2 separate regions of the Homo sapiens genome follow, and region 2 is linked to region 1. Evidence: promoter capture Hi-C in 16 types of primary human blood cells and fetal thymus (Javierre and others, 2016). All regions are on one chromosome and are shown on one strand. The core of a region is centred on a gene start or on the middle of the fragment in contact, and the rest is flanking DNA. Distances in the headings are between cores, read along the strand shown.

Region 1 (2,909 bases), core at 152-2,651:
GCTGGAATGCAGTGGTGGCACGATCTTGGCTCACTGCAGCCTCCACTTCCCAGGTTCAAGCAATTCTCCCACTTCAGCCTCCAAAGTAGCTGGGATTACAGGTGCACGCCACCATGCCTGGCTACTTTTGTATTTTTAGTAGAAATTGGGTTTCACCATGTTGGCCAGGCTGGTCTCGAACTCCTGACCTCAGGTGATCCACCCGCCTCGGCCTCCCAAAGTGCTGGGATTACATGCGTGAGGCACTGCACCCAGCCAATCCTTTCTTCTCTAATTTCTCAGAGCGTCCTGGAAGTCCAGACAGGGTCCACACAGGAACCCCAACTCCTCCCTATCAGCCCGACCTCGGGGGGACATAGTTAGAGTATGAGTCATGGGGTCACTGGGCAGGCTAGACACAGTCAACGCCCCACACCCCCACACCCAGTTCCTAAGCTTCTGCCTCCGCTCACCTGCCCTCTGCATACTTGCCTTGGGGCCTGGAGCTGCCTCATCCCCGCCCAGATGGCGAGAAAGGGATCCCAGCAAACCCCTCCCCAGCACACCCCCACACCAACCCCAGGTCTCCCCCTACCAGTGACCCCATGGCCCCCATCCTGTCCCAGGGACCAGCTGCAGCGGGAGAGCAGTAGAGGGCACCCCCCACACCCAGAGGCGGGCCCGGCAGGTTTTTCAGGTCTGCCATTCTGACACCACAGCCGAGAAAGAAATTCCTGGCTGTAATAACTGTTTACAACCAAGATACCTCACCTGGGTGGCACCCCAACAGTTGGGGGGTCATTTCCACATCCTGCCACTATTAGAGCAAATACAAAATCTCAATGTCTGGGCCATTACCCTCCCCAGAGCCCCTGCTTCCTCCACTGCAGTGAACAAATCAGGCATAGGCAGGCAGGTGCCTGAGTAATGGTTTCTTAGTAGCCCAGTCTGGTCTTTCTTGGAGAGCTGGGCCCTGGGTTGGGGGAGGACAGAGGCTACTCCTGGCGGGGAGGAAAGGAAGCAGGGATAGGGTGGAGAAGGGGGGACTCATACTTCTCTTTTCCCCGATCCCTCCTCGTCCATTTCCGGCCGGGAATCGGCTTGGTGCCAGGAAAGGAAATTGGTGTTTTGGGCTTTGCCCCTGTCCTCAGGCCCTCCATTCTCACTGCCCCCCTACCCCCCCACCACCACCCTGCCCTGCATTGTTGGTGTGCCTCTCCCACAGACCTAGCTCTCTACCGAAGGGAACTTCAGTACACCCTGCCCCAGCTCCCCAATGCCCTTATCCCCCTCGCACCCTGGGCCCACTGCTCCCAGGTGCTCACCAATGCCAGAGAGTGCTGTGGGGTAGCCTCAGATACCTCAAAAATAGTTGTCTCGACCAGGCCCTGGCTCCGGCTGGTAGTGGCAGTCAGCAGCAGTGGCAGATGCCTTGGCCACCTCCCACTAGGTAATGGCCCAGCCTACCTGGCCAGGAACTGGGCCGGCCCACACCTTTTAACCCTTGCCTGTCTGCCACCAGGACTAGGGTCACCCCTGGGGGCAGTTTCAGGGCCAGGTCCACTCAGGGTGCTCAGCATGTCTAAGAAGACAGCCTGGGCCAGGCAGGGTAGCTGGTGCCTGTAATCTCAGCACTTTGGGAGGCTGAGGTGGGAGGATTGCTTGAAGCCAAGAGTTCAAGGCCAGACTGTGCAACATAATGAGACCCCCATCTCTACAAAAATTTTTTTTAAAACTGGCCAGGCATGGAGGCCTGTGCCTCCTCACCCCGTACACTTAGCAGAAAACTGGGAAGAAGGGCTGAGAGTGGTGGGAGTAGCAGCTGCCTCTCCTACTGCCCAAATTCCCAGAGGATTAGACGCTGCCCACCCAAGGGGCAACTTGGATCTGGGCCATAGAGGTGTGGGGAGCTGTAAAGTACATGGGAGGCTTCGGGTGTAAACTGAGTTTTTGTGTCTTGGCACTAAGCATCACATTCTGAGGCCCCTACCCTTTCCTCCCAGGGCAAGGCAGTGGTAGAAGGCCTTGGGGCAATTCCCACCCTCACTGGGGAATAATAGTTTCCCAAGTTGGGGACAGAGGAAGTCAACCTTTCTAAGGAGAGGTCAGGTCTCAAGATCCTTCTGTGGCTCCAGAAGAAATAATCTCAATAAATCAAGCACAACTTACACCCTACAAAACACTTATGGGTTTTGATCCCTCTTGGTTCCTACAAATGTAGCAGGATGGCACAGACCCAGCCTCCTCACAGCCATTTTATAGATGCAGAAGCTGAGGCCTGGAAAGGTGAAGAGGCCTGATTCAGATCACAGTGGCAGAAGAGCAGGTGAAATCAGAATTTCCGGGGGCTGGGTCCTGGCTGGGAGGCAGACAGAGGCTACTCCTGCAAGTGGGAAGGAGAAGTAGGGAAGGGGGCTCATGCTTCTTCACATCCATGCTGGGTCTCTCTTCTTCAGAGAGTCAGGCTTCATGCCAGAGAAGGAAATGAGAGCTTTGAGTCCTTACGACGTACTGTCCCTGCCTCCCCTCACCCCGCCCACCACCACCACCATCACCACCACCACCATCACCACTACCACCTGAGCTCTGGGCCAGTCCCGGCACACAGCACACATCCTGTGCTCCATTCAGGACCATCTGCTCTGTGACCCAGGGCCCAAGCCCTACCCAGACCCCTGCAGCAGCCCACACCATGACCTGAAGTGAGAAAAGCTGCAGATGGGCTGAGCCTAGAGAGGAGCTCACTCTGAATCAGCAATGCCCCAGACTCATACTATTAAGGCCTCCCGCCATCCCTGCCCACCTTTCTTCCTGGGTGTGAGATTTCCAGCATGGAACACAAAGGCCCCTTTCATCGCCCTCCCCACTTCACTGCCTGGGGCGGGCAGTGGTAAGGTGGGCATTGGGGAGTGTCCTCTCGGCCACAGCCT
Region 2 (2,909 bases), core at 112-2,611, 130 kb after region 1:
ACACCACCATGCCTGGCTAACTTTAAAAATATTTTTATTTTGTAGAGACAGGATCTCACTGTGTTGCTCAGGCCAATCTCAAATTCCTGGGGACAAGTGATCCTCCCGCCTTGGCCTCTCAAAGTGCTGGTATTGCAGGGGTGAGCCACCTGCAGCCAATTTGCTTTTTTCCCCCCTGAAATTAAAATGGTCAATGTGACAGACTGCTTCTTTTCACTTAGCAGTATGCATTAAGGTTTCTCCATGTTCTTTCATGGCTTGTTAGCTGGTTTCTTTCTTATCACTTAATGTTCCTTTTATGGAGGTACCAGTTTAATTATTCACCTATTAAAAGACATTCTTGGTTGCTTCCAGTTTTTGATGATTATGAATAAAGCTTCTGTAATGTGCATGCAGGTTTTTTTGTGGACGTAATTTTTTAGATCAGTTGTATACATACCTGGGAGCAAGATTGCTGGATTGCGTTGTAAGATTATGTTTTGATTTATGAGGAACTGAGAAACTGTCTTCCCAAGTGGCTGTATTATTTGCATGCCCACCATAATGATTTGGAAGTTCCTGTTGTCAGCATTACCAGCAATTGATACTGTCATTGTGTTGGATTTTAGCCATTCTCTTAGGTGTGTAGTGGTATCTCATTATTTTAACTTGCAGTTGCCTATTGGCAAATGCTGTTGAGCATCTTTTCATATGCTTATTTGCCATCTGTATAGCTTCTTTGGTGAATTGTGTTTGTGACTTCCTGACATACAATTCCTAAAATCCTTAGAATCTGCAAAGTGTTGCCTTTTTGTATGCTAATGAGGTGACTGATGGCTGGCAGCCTCTAGGTAGCTTCAGGATGGGGGCTGGTGACCTGAAAGACCAAGGCAGGATTAGAGGTTTGCAACTTTAAGCCCATCCCCCAGCCTTTGGGGAGGGGAGAGAGGCTGAAGATTAGGTTGATCACTAGTGTCCAATGGCATAATCAATAATGCCTGCATAATGAAGCTTCCAAAGAATCCCAAAAGGATTGGGTTCTGGGAGCTTTTGGGTAGCTGAATACATGGAAGTTTCTAGAGGGTGGCACCCCAGGGAGGGCATGGAAGCTCCACGTCCCTTCCCCCATATCTCACTCTGTGCATCTCATCTGTATCCTTTGTAATTTTCTCTATAATAAACTGGCAGACGTGTTTCCTGGGTTTTGTGAGCTGCTCTAGCAAGTTAGTTGAACCCCCAAAAAAGTATTGTGGGAATCCCAATTTATAGCTGGTCAGTCAGAAATTCTGGAGGCCCAGACTTTCGACTGGTGTTCGAAGGGGGTTGGGGGGAGTCTTGTGGGACTGAGCCCTCAACCTGTGGGATCCCAGGCTGTCTCTGGGTATTGAATTGCATTGGAGGATGGACACCAGGTGTCCGCTGCTTGCTGTGTGGGAAAACACCCTCCCCCCAGCCCGCACACTTGGTCACAGAAGTCTCCTGTGTTGATTGTTGTTGAGTGAGAGTAGAAAAAACACTTGGAGTGTGTTTAACACTGCCAGAGTGGTTAGATTTTTTGACTATTTTTTTAATTGGCTTGTTCTAACATAGTTTTACGAATTGTTTTTAACTATTCACAGTAAAAAATTACATTTTATCTGAATGCAAGGTCTGCAGGAAAAAGAAAAGAATACATTTTACATGATTACTTAGCATATATGCATTTGTGTGTGATGTGTATATGTGCATTAAAATAATGTTAACTAAAGCTTCATGAAACAACATTTGCACTTATTCCCTGGGATATATTCTGATATTTTCTATTTTTTAAAAATGCTGTTGGATCTCAGCCTGAAAAACAGTACTCTGATGTAGTGTCCTGTAACTCATAGCACCCCACACCATGTTGATACTGCCCCCTTATTCCCTCACACACCCACTACTTCCCCCAACCCCTCACATGCTTGAATACTCCCTCCACCCGGTGCACACATAGCTAATTTTTGTATGTGTCTCATCTGCTCATGTGTGTGAAAGTCCTCAACATTATGAAACAGTCATCACTGGATGGGGCTTCTTTAAATTAAGGCCCAGGGCCAGGTGCAGTGGCTCACACCTATAATCCCAGCACTTTGGGAGGCCGAGTCGGGTGGATCACCTGAGGTCAGGAGTTCAAGGCCAGCCTGGCCAACATGGTGAAACCCCATTTCTACTAAAAATACAAAAAAGTTAGCCGGGGGTGGTGGCACTCACCTGTAATCCCAGCTACTTGGGAGGCTGAGGCTGGAGAATCCCTTGAACCTGGGAGGCGGAGGTTGCAGTGAGCCGAGATTACCCCACTGCACTCCAGCCTGGGCGACAGAGCGATACTTCGTCTCAGAAAAAAAAAAAAAAATAAGTCCCAGGTTGGAAGGCACCTGACTGCTCCAGTCTCAGTGCCTCAGTTGAGGTGGTTTGGGGGTTAGAGTCAGGTCTTACAAGCATAGGAGTTTGGAATGACAGGTCCCACATCCCAAGCCTGCTTTCCCTTGGTCCCCAATCAAGAGGTAGTCTGTGGAGTGTTGCTCTTTGGGAGTACCTGCTTTCCTGTCTCCTTTTTTTTCTGGGGCCTGTGGGCCTACCTCGCTGAGCCTGTTCTGGCTCTTGGGCAGGTTCAGTGTGTTATTGCACATCCCTGTTCCTCTCCCTCCTTGCAGTTTGCAGAGCAGTCTCTGATGAAGAATGCCATAAAAACATCGGAGGAGTCATGGATTGAACAGCAGATGCTAGAAGACAAGAAACGGGCCACAGACTGGGAGGCCACAAATGAAGCCATCGAGGAGCAGGTGGCTCGGGAATCCTACCTGCAGTGGTTGCGGGATCAGGAGAAACAGGCTCGCCAGGTCCGAGGCCCCAGCCAGGTGGGTCATGGACTCTGTCACAGGCTTGGCCAAAAACTCATTACTTCTCAT

What was found. Contacts are between HindIII fragments. The CHiCAGO score rates a contact against its expected background, and 5 or more counts as called.
Region 2: a contact is called between a fragment that was not itself captured here and the fragment with the promoter of CCDC120 in region 1, in 1 of 17 cell types (M2 macrophages). The highest score is 5.0, in M2 macrophages.

What each region holds. Positions count from the first base shown.
Region 1 is chrX:49,057,491-49,060,399 of GRCh38, reverse strand. It overlaps CCDC120 (coiled-coil domain containing 120), which reads right to left and starts at 1,401. Exons shown (of 11, transcript NM_001163321.4): 1 at 1,305-1,401. The HindIII fragment of the contact is 2,580 bases long and covers 438-2,909 here.
Region 2 is chrX:48,925,796-48,928,704 of GRCh38, reverse strand. OTUD5 (OTU deubiquitinase 5) reads left to right here. Exons shown (of 9, transcript NM_001136157.2): 6 at 2,655-2,858. Among named protein-coding and RNA genes, the nearest start is that of PIM2, 8.2 kb to the right of the region's middle. RefSeq lists an enhancer at 610-1,248. The HindIII fragment of the contact is 737 bases long and covers 993-1,729 here.